3 separate regions of the Homo sapiens genome follow, and all the other regions are linked to region 2. The links are contacts of gene promoters, found by promoter capture Hi-C in blood cells and fetal thymus (Javierre and others, 2016). All regions are on one chromosome and are shown on one strand. Each heading gives the region's core, a stretch centred on a gene start or on the middle of the fragment in contact. The rest is flanking DNA. Distances are from core to core; before and after follow the strand shown. Region 1 overlaps NT5DC1 (5'-nucleotidase domain containing 1). Region 2 holds the start of CALHM6 (calcium homeostasis modulator family member 6). Region 3 overlaps FRK (fyn related Src family tyrosine kinase).

Region 1 (3,931 bases), core at 285-2,784, 360 kb after region 2:
AATACATATGGGGACCAGGAAGGTGATCTAAACAAGTCATGATGCCTCTATCAGATACAGGTAATCACTCTTGTTTCTCCACACACACATACACAAAAACCATTAAAAAAAAAAAATCTAAAGACAAAGGACAAAGAAAGCCTCTGGAAGCAAGTACAATAATTACAATAATAAATACTCTGTTGATTGCTGACAGATCTTATTTCTCAACAACAAAAAATGCTAGGTTTTTGAGTAAAATATCTGGTTTTTAAGTGCTGGCTAACTTTAAAAGAACTGTACATACCAAACAAAAAGTGCACAAAAGGTAGATGGTCCAACCTTATTCTACCTCGAAGTGTTCTTTGGCCAGTGTTGGGTAAACTTGAGCCTGAGCAGAACAGTTGTCTGAGTCAACCTGCACAGTGTCCAAAAGGACACACTGAACAATCTGACCCTTCTTCTACAGATATTAACCCACAACAGGTTTCGATAACATGTCATACTTTTAGGGAGAAGAGGGAGGCAGAGGAGCAGGGGAAATCTCTCCTGGGTAGTGAGGTTTACACTGATACTTAGATGCAGCAGTTCGCTGGGTGAATGCAGAGGGAATGGGGGGCAACTCAGGTTCAGAAACTGAGGGGCCTGCACACAGCTGGAGTAGGGGTGTCGGGGTCTGAGTGTCAGGATATGAGCATGGAGAAAGCAAAGGCTCCTTGTGAAATGTCAAATCGAGTTGCTCCCTGTCATAAAGCTAATTAAAATCACTACACATGTACTTCCATCCAGTGCAATGTGACCTTATCCAGGTCAACTGTTAATTGAACCACATTATGTTAACACTATATATCAACAGTTCTTAACCCTGGTGGTGATTCAGAACCATAGGTGACACTTCTTAAAACTACCCAGAGCTTCCAAGCATACAGGGTAGAGAGGGCCCTCTCTGAAGCACAGAGAACACTGAAAATCACTGACCTGCATGTTTTACAGATTTTTATTCAATCATTAAAAGGAAAAAAGCAACAAAAAATACACTGAGTCACCCTGTGGTACAAAGTACTATGGACAATAAAAAGTCCACATCACGATCCTGCTTATAAGAAACCAGTGCTGCAGGGCTAACAGATGTAAAATGCTTAGAGCAGAGCCTGGCACACCAGCAAATCCAATTTAAGTATTTGCTATTATTATGTTGTATGCTGCTAAAAACAAAACAAAACAAAACAAAAAAACAGAAAACAAAAACACTGCCCTGACAGGTAGCGCTTGCCCATCTCCACGGTGTAAATATTCCCACCATGGCCTGTTTCAAGTCACCAACAGCAGTTTACCTGCTTGCACAATTCCTGAATAGTTAACAATTGGCTTTCACAAGCCCCTAAGAGCCAGCTATTGTACACCTTAGATTTGCCTCTCATTGAGGCACTTTTGAGTTTCTCCAGTTATTCAAGTGATTAGTCTAAGATATGGGCATGTAATTCTAAAACACTTGAATTCTCCTGGAAGAAAGGAGCCCTTTCCATCAGAGACGCCAACAGGGACAGCAACAGCTGTGTTCCTTACCTTGTGGAGGAGATTTTTCTGTAACAGGAGAGAAGGGGGCCAATGGACAAGGAAAAGAAGCAGAGAAAAGCAGTGTGAAGAAAAGCAGGGGCATCTGTACTCTGAAACCCCTGGTCTAGGCAGAAGGCTTCTTGCAGTTTGTCCTTAGAGTACGCTGAGTCTCTCTAGAAGCCTTCATGGCACAGGGCTCTCCATGACATTCCTCCCCCAGCCTTAGCTATCACCACCTCACAGTCTCTCAGGAGTAATAATAATACACGTTCTACTGCAGTTGCCAATTGGTACCCTGTGGTCCATATGCAGCCTACAAATTATGTTTGGTTCCCACTTAAGGTTGCCAGATAAAATTTAAAAATGCCTAGGTAAATGTGACTTTCAAATAAAAAACAAATAATTTTTTTTTAGTATAAGCATGCAATATTTGGGACCCCACTCTCCCACTCACACATCTACGTTAACTGACTGGTATCAGACTTCTGAGTCTGCAACCTTAGAGAGGAGAAACCATGTGTCATCCTCTCTTCTAGAATGCCTTTCCTGAGGCCTCATGTGAGGGGGACACACTCAGTTCTGTGTTTGCACAACTCTGTGCAGTTGTTAAATGCCTACAAAACTGAAAGGAGACGCACTCACAGCTCTCCATGATGCAGCCCCCACTGACTTCTCCACCATCTTCTCCTGCAACTTGCCACCTTTTGCTTGCACCCAGCAGTTCCCGGTGCTGTTGCTCACCTCGAGGTTCTGACCTTTACTCTAACTCCTCTGGGTGAAGCACTCCTCTCCACCTCCTCACCTGCCAGCTCCCGGCCTTTCCTCTGTGTTTTCGGGCACCATACAGACAGCAAGGTGGGAAGAAGCAGAAATCCACAGCCGGACTACCTCGCTTAGTTGCCCTGGATACACTTTCCTTCTGTGCCCCGTTGCTTGATGCTCTCTTAACAGTGACTAAATCACTGTTAAGTGATTAAACAGTGGTGATAATATCTACCTCACAGGGACGTTGTAAGGATTAAATCCATTCATATAAGCAGCATGCTTATTAGAATCATGGCTGTATCATATTCTGTTATTAAAATACCTATTATCTATTCAGTCTATTTATTGAGTCCAGTATGTGCCCAGCACTAAGCTCGGCACACAGAACACACAAGAAACTGTCACAGATACTGATGGAGTCATCACGCTGGGCTCTAGGGGAAGTCCAACAAGTAAACAGGAAGTGTTAATATCATGCAGCATGTGCTATGAGGAATGAAGGGTTTTGTGGAAAACTGAAGGTGGGCTTAGAATGGAAGGGCAAACTTTAAGGGCCAAAAAGACTTCCTAAGGGGAACGATGTTTAAGATGAGGCCTGATGGGATGAAGAGCTTCTGTGCAGAGCAAAGAGGCCCTCCAGGCACTGTTGGCAGCGTGAAGCAAGACCCAGGTCATACTACCCACCACAAGGGACCAAGACTAACTCTTCAGCATTTTTGCCTACTGTGTAAGGCTGCCTGGAGGCCTGCGTGTTGATCTCTGTATCCTCAGCTCTAGCATGGTGCTCAGCACACTGTGGGACTTAAAATAAAAAAGATTTCCACACCAAACATGATCCAAAACTCAATAGGTTACTGTTTTCAAGCTTTAAACATCACTTATTCTCCAGGTTTGCAGTAAAAAAACCTCTTGTCTTTGAGAATCTTATATTCTGAAATTTTATGATCACCTATGGACAACACTAGCTCTAACATGACAGTGGTTTAACAATATTACCTCCAAATGAAGGTAACTAAAGAGGAGACACACAAAACTGTGAACCAGGAAGGATTCGAAAGACACAGAGGGAAGGAAAACATGTATCAAAGACCTAGGGGAAGCAGTGGCCAAAGAATCAAGCAGTAAAAAAGCCTTCTTAATTCTCAATGTGACTAAGGAAACCAGACCTGTAAGGTAAGAAAGCAGGAAAGTGTAACAGCAGAAAAAGGACATTTAAAAAAAAATTTAGCATCTGGGCATAGAAAACACACGAGAAATTCGGGCAGCCACTCTTTTTTGACCTTTAACGTGTACCTGAACTGGTGGGTGCAGGAACTGGCGGGTGCCCATAATGGGGCACAACCCTGGCTGATGTCTGCACCAGTGATCTAGAGTTCTACCCATAAACTGTGAGGTTTCCAAATAGTTTGGGTGGTAACCATAAAAGCAAACACTTGTCTTTGCCAAGGTACTATTCTAAGCATTATACATCTCTTACTCATTTAATCCTTGCAACAATCTTGTGAGGTAAATCCAATTATTAGCTCCATTTTACAGATGGGGAAACTGAGAAGCAGCACAGGTTAAGTAACTTCCTCGAAGTCACAGAGCTAGTAACAGTGGAGCTGGTGTCCTAAGCTAGGCAGTCTGG
Region 2 (3,906 bases), core at 1-2,500:
TTTTATTCAGATATTCTCTTGACGGCAAATTAGATGCAAGGAGCCATTCTAGATTTTCTTAGGGTACTGTATATCTGGAGAAAAGTCACCGATTTTTCCCTCACCCCAGCGGCCCTGAGAAAGCTCGGCCTCTCGGCTCCTCCCAAACGCCCCCAGCGCCAGCGGCAGACCTGCGACTGAGCCTTCAGATCCTTCAGGAGGTCCTGCACGTCCGACGCCTTGGCCTGGTTGCACGGCACCAGCGGCAGCTCCGCGGCGCAGCTGCGGTTGCGGCCGAGGCACAGGCGCTGCGCGAAGGCCGCGCTCCCGGTGGCCGCGCACTCGTAAAAGGCGCCCCCGAGCAGCGCCACGGCCACCCAGGTGAGGGGCGCGAGCGCGGCGGCCGCGCTGATTTGCGTGCACACCAGGGAGCCGCGCAGCGCCGATCCGCAACTCGCGCGGGCGCTGGAGCAGCATCCGGTGAGCAGGCGCCACGTGCGTGCGCTCAGCACGTAGCCCAGGAGGAAGAGCGCGAGCGCCGGCACCAGCAAGAAGACCAGGCCGTAGGGCAGGTTCCAGGCGGCGCTGCACGGGCACTGGAATGCCACGGCGGAGAAGATGCGCTCCCCGCCCGCCGTCAGCAGGGTCACCAGGCCGTAGCCCAAGGCGCTGTGGTGCTTGACGTGCAGGTCCAGCACCGCCCGAAACTTCTCCATGAGCCTCGTCCCCCGGGGCGTCGCGCACAGGCCCAGATCCTTCTGCCTCTTCGTTGTCCTGCTTGTCAAATGGTTTTGGTGGGATGGGGACCGGGGCTTTCCACTCTGCGAGAAGCAGCCTTTTTTTTTTTTTTTTTAAAGGGAAGAGGGCTTCTCAGACCTTCCTAAAGTTTCACTTTCTCATTTCAGCCACACCACCTCTGGTTAACAGAACCAGGCAAGCAAACACCCCCAGGACCTTGACTTCTCTGGCACCCACCCCATTCCAAAGGCAGAGGCACCAGTTATCTTCCTCCCCCAATTCAGGAACTCTGACAGAAGGTTGACCTTGTTCCTTTATTACCACCAATCTGACAACGAACCAGGAAACTAACCTTCTTGACCCACGGCCGCCAGTTGGAAAAACTGGGAAATACCAGATTTTCCTCTATTGCAGCCACCCTAGTTACTAAGCCAGATCACAGTAAAACCAAATAATTATCAAAAAACTGATTACTTACGGGAAACATTATTCAAGGACAAATTTCTGGTTCCTCTTCCATAAGCTAAATCAGCAAAGTCCAGCTCAAGTTCTGGTACTTCTATGATGGGCGGCACCCTTTCCATCTCCCTACCGGACAGAGCCACCAGCCTAGTTCACACTGACTCTTCTCTCCTCTGCCTGATCTCCTTCAGGACATTAGACCAAATATACTGTATTGATTTACTCGTCAATACAATGTTCTTTTCTTTCAGATATGTCATAACACTGTCAATGCCTGGAGGAGAGTAAAATTCTGACTCTGACCACCAAGCTGATCTGCACAGAAGGGGATACATGATTATTCAAAGAATGCTAGTTGAACCCAAAATTTCAAACTGCAGCTACATCTATCTAATGTTGTTTCCTCCACCTTCAGTTTTCTCAAGCAGCGTTGTTCTGACACAAACACTGTAACCACTTTTGTGATATTGAGCCTTACTCTGTGTGACTCCAGACTGAGCTGAGGTGTGCTTGAAAGAACATGGGCTTTGAAGTCAAGTGCATCTTGTCTGTGGTGTGTTTAACAAGTATGCCCCTCTGAGACACAGCATCCTTATTTGTAAAAGAAGGATAATAGTGCCCACTTTTCAAGATTACTGACATGAGTAGATTGAGTAGCATATGTAAAGTGCCTTTACATATAGGATATGTCTGTTAAATGAATGATCAGTGTGAGAGTTTTCCCCTTAAAATGCAATTTGGGGAATAGACAACAAATAATTACATTGTACATAACCTAAGAATCTTGATGAATACTGAATTTTGAATTTTAAACGAGGATCAATTCAGTGGATAGTATTAAGTGACTCAATGACTCTGCTACCTTAAGAGAATTGGTGTACACCTTAGCTGTCTGCTTCACCACAAGGAGAGTATCTGGATATGGAGCTTGGGTGGGCAGTTCACAATGAAATGGTTCTTATTGGTGCCCATCCACCAGGCTTGCCTTATTTTATCTGGAAAGAATAGGTAGCCCATGGAACCAAGTGAATTTTTAGAGAATGGACAAGAAATGTATTATTCTTTTCTTAGTCCAACTTGCCTTCTTAACTACTCCCTCTCCAACACCACCAGCAGGGTGCCTAGCGTAGTGCCAAAAGCTGTCATTCCATAGTGATGTGGTAAATAGACATCTTTTTTCTATGTGTTTAGGGGCCAGCCCCAGATGAGGGTCTTCATGGTCATGCAGGAAAGTTGGGGCCCTCTTCTCTGAGATTAGACCAGATACTGCTAGGCTTCCTGTCAACTTGCAGCAAAGTTGCGTGTTTGAAGCGAATCACTTCTGCTCTGACTGTTATCTTTGTAATTTGTCATCTCCCAAGATAAATTTCTTCCCCTGTGCCTTGAGTAACTCTCCTCTTACTGCTGGACTCTTCTTCACCTCTACCATAATACTCTAAGATGTGTCCTCTCTCGTCCACCCTTTCCCATATTCCATCATGCAGAAACATCACTATATCCACAACCTTTGTGCAGATGGCTTTATCCAAATCTCCCCTAACCGAAACCTAATAAAAATGCATCCTTCTGTCTTCTTGAGTGAGATTAATTTATTCTCCCACATCTCTCAAACCAAGAGGGATGGCTGGCATTTTCCTGGTTACCTGCTGATAGCCATACCAGGGTTTTACCACTGTGCTATAATAGTTTATCATCCACTGAGGCTCAATCTAATCAGCACCATCTCCTCCTTCACCTCATTCCTATGGTCTGTTTTCATTCCCTTCATTTTTTAAGACTCTAATGAAGTCCATCACCTTCTCTTCCCTGGCTTCTGTTATTTAGTCAAGGATTTGTTTGAAATATGTTTACTTACAGAAACTTTTATCTATCAGCCCCCTTCCCCAACTAGATTAATTCATTTGTTAACCAGTTATTAATTAGTTCATTTGTTCATTCAGTCATTCATTTAAATGTTTAATAAGTACTCAGAATATGTCAAGTACCTATCAAAAGTGCCTGGTATTGCTGGATACAACAAGGAAGAAGACACAGGTATCCTGCCGTCTTTGAACTTACAGTAGAGATGATATAGGAAATGGAGAGGAGGGGTCCTAAAGATTACGCACAGGATAAATTGGAGTTAGAGAGTGTCCTGAAAGAGCCTCTGTGAGAAACTGACATTTAATCTGAATGAGTCTGGAGTACAAAGGAGCTTGGTTAGAAAGAAGGCTAGAGTGATGGGAGCATTGAGAATGACAGGCAAGTTGGCACATCATGAGGCCAAAGCTGCAAGTGGAAGGTCAGGTTTAGGTGCTTCACAGACCAGAATATGTAGTCTGCAATTCTGCCTCTGAAACTTTCACAGACTGAGCTGCATCCTGACATATTGTCTTGTCAGCTTGTGTCTCTAAACACCACCTCCTGGGTTTGCTACTTCTGTGCTCTCCCAAACCCAACTCTCCCAGATGCAATGATCATTCAGAACTTAGTACAGGTTTCTATAATTGAGAGTCCAGGTTTTGCCTGCCAGCCTGAATGTTTCCCCAGCACTTGGTCTTGAGTCTAGTACCCTGCCATCCACTCCCACCACCACTGGATTGACTGGTTCTAGCTCTGGGTCTATTGAAGATTCCCAGCCCTCCATACCCAGGTCTGTTCTGAGAGGATATTGCTCAGAAGTTCAGCCCTTAGTGGAAATTGACTAACACCCTAATGGTGTGGAGAGGTAGACTAAATAATATTTTA
Region 3 (4,405 bases), core at 255-2,754, 440 kb after region 2:
CAAAGAATGCACTGGAGATAAGTCAGAGGGGAGCTGGCTTGTGCAATGAATCTATTATCATTCACCTTCAGAGAAATATGCTCCTCAAGCTTACTTGAAGCTCTAATTCTAAGGCTTTAGGATGTTCCTTTACTGTGCCCTCTTTCCAACAGCAGGTCTCTTCAAATCTATAAGATTTTAAAATCCTTTCCTGGGTCACAGTGAACAGGTCAGATTTTATTATGCTCTGAGTATTTCAATGATTAAAAAAAAATTATCCCAGGCAAAGAGCATGGTGGAAATGTCTTTGTATCACTAAAATTCTGGAATAAAATTTTATTTAATTGCAATATGCTTACTAGTAAGGCAGTCATTGAGGCAGGGAATATTTCAGTTTCTCAAAACACATATTTGTATATAAATAGTTTACATGCTATTTACAAATAATATTTCCATTGTGTATTATTAGAGTATATCCTCTTATGAAAACACTTTGTAAGAGAGCAAACATTTTAGTCTACTTCAAGACACTTATAATTTTAATAAACTGAATTATTTAAAACACAAATATAACTGGAAGGACTCTGCCTTTCACCCTTACCCCAGGGTATAGGCTTGTTCTGGACAGCGAGAGGATGCATAATTCTGTTGCTACCATCTGCTATGGATAATGGTGTGAGAAGAGCTTTGCCTAAGGATTTGATGTGCTAAAGAAAATTCTGTTTTCAAAGCTCTGGCTGTTTGTGCTGCTGAGAATAAAGACATGGAATAGATGGGCCTTAATTGAGCAGAACAATTTAAGAAGTGCTGGGGTATACAGAGGGAGACCCAGAATCTAGTTTGGAGTAAGGGTTGGGTAGGAAATCAAACTGCTTTGCATACAGAAACATGGAGAATTTTGTTGTAAAATCCCTGGCACAGAGAAAGGAGGAAGAGGAGTGGTTCCTCAGCAACCTATTAGGGGGCCCTAGACATAAGGGAAAAAGTTTTGGGAAATTCCCTCTTCAGCAGAAAGGACATTAAATTTCAATGAACAGAAATTTCTGGTATCTGTTTGAACTTGTTTTCTGCTCTGTATTGTACTTAAAGCTTTGCTCTTCACAAATTTTATACAGCATTTGGATTGAATTTGTAATGTTTTGTAAGGGTTGAAAATAAAGAAGTGGGGTCCAGTGTGAGGCAGTGTGAGGCAGAGTGGACTGGAGAGAAAAAGGTGCAAGGTGGGCTATGGCAGGATGACTCAGGATTTAGGAGAAGATGTTAAGAGAAAGTCCCCCTCTTCTAGAAACAGCTGTGTTTTTCAAATTGTAGTACCTTGGTTACCTGCCTCTGAATTGCCTGTGGCACTTGGGAACCTACAGCATCCTGAGCTCTACCTCCGACCTTCTTAGACTATTTGCCTTGTACACACTTCCTGGGACAGTCTTCAGAAACTGGAGTTTGAGAACTGAGGCCCTAGAGAAGGTTAATCCTTAGGTAGTGATAAAAGAAAAACCTCGACAAATTAAACTTAGCAGAGTTTAACTGGGCAAAGAACTGTTGGCAAATCAGGCAGTCTCCTGAGCCAGAGTGTGCTCAGACAGAGTCCAGCTGGTGGAAAGGGACTTATGGAGAGAAAAAGAAAAGCGATGTAGAAAAATTGAAAAGAGGTACAGAAACAGCTGGATTGGTTACAGCTCGGTGTTTGCCTTATTTTGAACAGGGTTTGAACAGTTGGCCACCTTTGGTTGCTCAAAACTTGGTGATTGGCACAAGAGTAGGTTACAGTCTGTTTGCACATCCATTTAGGTTGCAGTTCACTGTGTACAGAGAAACCTTTAGGCTGAACTTAAAACGTGTAAGGAGACAGCTTTCTGCTTGATTTAACAGTAACACGGGTGTGTGTTGGGAGGTAGGGAGGTGGGGGCTCTTTCTTCTCTCAGTCTGCCTTTTTCCACAACAGTTCTGAGGAGTAAGCTTGTAATGTATTTGTGCAACTGCTTCTTTCTGTAATTCTAAGCAGGAGCAAGCAGTAAACTAATTTTCAGATTTCAGAAAAGTCCATCAGTGCAGGCAGAGCCTTCCTTTTGTTTCCTGACAAATAGTTTGTTGACACTGAAAACAAAAGATGTGTTTTCTGGCACTGTTTCAGGCTTTCTTTTTGAGAACAAGCTGCTCTGTGGATGTGTTCAGTTTCTACTATTTCAAAGTCCAGTGGGTGGCATTTACATGGGTTTTAAACTATCTTTAGTTATTAACATTGGTGTTATTATTGGTAATTATTCATGATAGTAATGCTTAGTGAGTATCTGGGTATACAGGGCTAAATTATTAAAAAGAAAGAAAGAAAGAAAGAATGAAGGAAGAAAGAAAGAGAACGTGTGTGCTTGTTCTGACCTGTAGCAGACCAGGTCTCACACCTTGACTCCCTGGGGGCACCTGCTTCATTTTAATCCCCCCAAAGCAGTAAAACTAGTACATATCTGTACATCCATGTTGGTATCTGCAGCTACACACACACACACAAACACACACACACATCCATCCACTCATTCACATATATGTGTGTGTGTCTCTGTGTCATGTATGGATTAAGATTAGACAGTATAGTTTTTAAAATTATTTTTTATTGGTACATAAAAGATGTACATATTCTCTGGGTACATGTGATAATTTGATACATTAATATAATCTGAATTGGAATATCCATTACCTTAACTATTTCTCTTTTCTTCATGCTAGGAACATTCAAATAAGGAACAGTAGATTAATGTTAACTATAGTCAACCTACTATAGAGATTGTGCTCTGCTGTACTTTGGCCTCCTTTAGCCACAGCTGGAGCTGGAGCAGCTGAGACATAGGGCACCAAGTCCAGAAGGTGCACAGAGCAGCAGGACCCTGTACCCAGCCCATGAGACCATTTTTCTCTTTTAGGCCTCTGGACCTGTGATGGGAGGGGCTGCCATGAAGATCTCTGGCATGCCTTGGAGACATTTTCTTCATTGTCTTGGCTATTAACATTTGGCCCCTGGTCACTTAAGCAAATTTCTGCAACTGGGTTGAATTGCTCCCCAGAAAATGGGCTTTTCTTTTCTACCACATGATCAGGCTGCAAATTTTCCAAACTTTTATGCTCTGCTTCCCTGATAAATAAAAGTTCCAGTTTCAGATAATCTCTTGGTGAATGCATATGACTGACTGCTTTCAGAATCAGCCAGGTCACATCTTGGATGCTTCACTGCTTAGAAATCTCTTCTGCTAGATACCCTAAATCATCTCTGTCAAGTTCACAATTCCACAGATCACTAGGGCAGGGACAAAATGCCACCAGTCTCTTTGCCAAAGCATAGCATGAGTGACCTTTACTCCAGTTCCCAATAACTTCCTCATTTCTATCTGAGACCAACTGAGCCTGGAATTCATTGTCCATATTACTATCAGCATTTTGATCAAAACTGTTCAACAAGTGTCTAGGAAGTTCCAAACTTTCCTACATATTCCTGTCTTCTTCTGAGCCCTCCAAACTGTCCAACATCTGCCTGTTACCTAGTTCCAAAGTTGCTTCCACATTTTCAGTTTTTCTTTATAGCAGTGCCCCACTCTACTGCTATCAATTTTCTGTATTAGTCCGTTCTCACACAGCTATAAAGATATTACCTGAGACTGGATAATTTATGAAGAAAAGAGGTTTAATTGTCTCACAGTTCTGGATGGCTGGGGAAGACTCGGGAAACTTACAATCATGGTGGAAGGGGAAGCAAGGCACATCTTACATGGTGGCAGGAGAGAGAGAGTTCAGAGAAACTGCCACTTTTAAACCATCAGCTCTTGTGAGAACTCACTACCATGAGAACGGCATGGGAAGAAACACCCTCATGATCCAGTCATCTCCCACCAGGTCCCTTCCCCAACACATGGGGATTATAATTAGAGAGAGATTTGGGTGGGGACACAGAGCCAAACCATATCAATAAGTAAATTTTGAATAAAAAATGAATAAGTGATTTTCAAGGTGGTAGGTTGTGGTTGTGGCCTTGGCACCAGCTCGTGTAAATACAGAAGAAACACTTGGCCTTATTGAAAGAGTTGGTTAGTTTCTTTCACAGGCATTTCTGAGAATTTAATAAAACAATGGATTATCTCCCCGGAAAAAAATGCATGTACTCATTAAAACACCTTTGCCTGTAGATCCTTATGAAAATTTCTTTTCACCTCTAAAGTTTGGACCAAGTCTCTTTTTTGTTTCTAGTCATGGAAGAATTCCTCTTTGCTTTCACCCTCCACATCTCCATCTCATATTTGTTTGTGAAACAATTTTTAAAGAACAAGTCACATTTTTTCCCTCATATTGCTGGTGAGCTCAGGGCTTAAAACTCCTTTTGTGTTAAATATTAAATGGAGTATCTTAAAACTCTCCTTTGTAGTTTTCAAATTTACCAAAGATC

The links. Contacts are between HindIII fragments. The CHiCAGO score rates a contact against its expected background, and 5 or more counts as called.
Region 1: a fragment that was not itself captured here is called in contact with the fragment with the promoter of CALHM6 in region 2 in 1 of 17 cell types (monocytes); the score reaches 5.6 in monocytes.
Region 3: a fragment that was not itself captured here is called in contact with the fragment with the promoter of CALHM6 in region 2 in 1 of 17 cell types (total B cells); the score reaches 5.2 in total B cells.

Annotation. Positions count from the first base shown.
Region 1 is chr6:116,101,910-116,105,840 of GRCh38, reverse strand. All of the region lies in intron 1 of NT5DC1 (5'-nucleotidase domain containing 1), which reads right to left. Among named protein-coding and RNA genes, the nearest start is that of NT5DC1, 3.0 kb to the right of the region's middle. RefSeq lists an enhancer at 2,746-2,815. The HindIII fragment of the contact is 3,268 bases long and covers 1-3,168 here.
Region 2 is chr6:116,458,719-116,462,624 of GRCh38, reverse strand. It overlaps CALHM6 (calcium homeostasis modulator family member 6), which reads right to left and starts at 1,250. Exons shown (of 3, transcript NM_001010919.3): 1 at 1,196-1,250; 2 at 171-753. The coding sequence starts at 695. It overlaps CALHM6-AS1 (CALHM6 antisense RNA 1), which reads left to right. Exons shown (of 2, transcript NR_174951.1): 2 at 1,431-2,147. RefSeq lists a silencer at 185-264 and enhancers at 645-724, 735-844. The HindIII fragment of the contact is 9,761 bases long and covers 1-3,906 here.
Region 3 is chr6:116,014,639-116,019,043 of GRCh38, reverse strand. All of the region lies in intron 1 of FRK (fyn related Src family tyrosine kinase), which reads left to right. Among named protein-coding and RNA genes, the nearest start is that of FRK, 44 kb to the left of the region's middle. The HindIII fragment of the contact is 867 bases long and covers 1,071-1,937 here.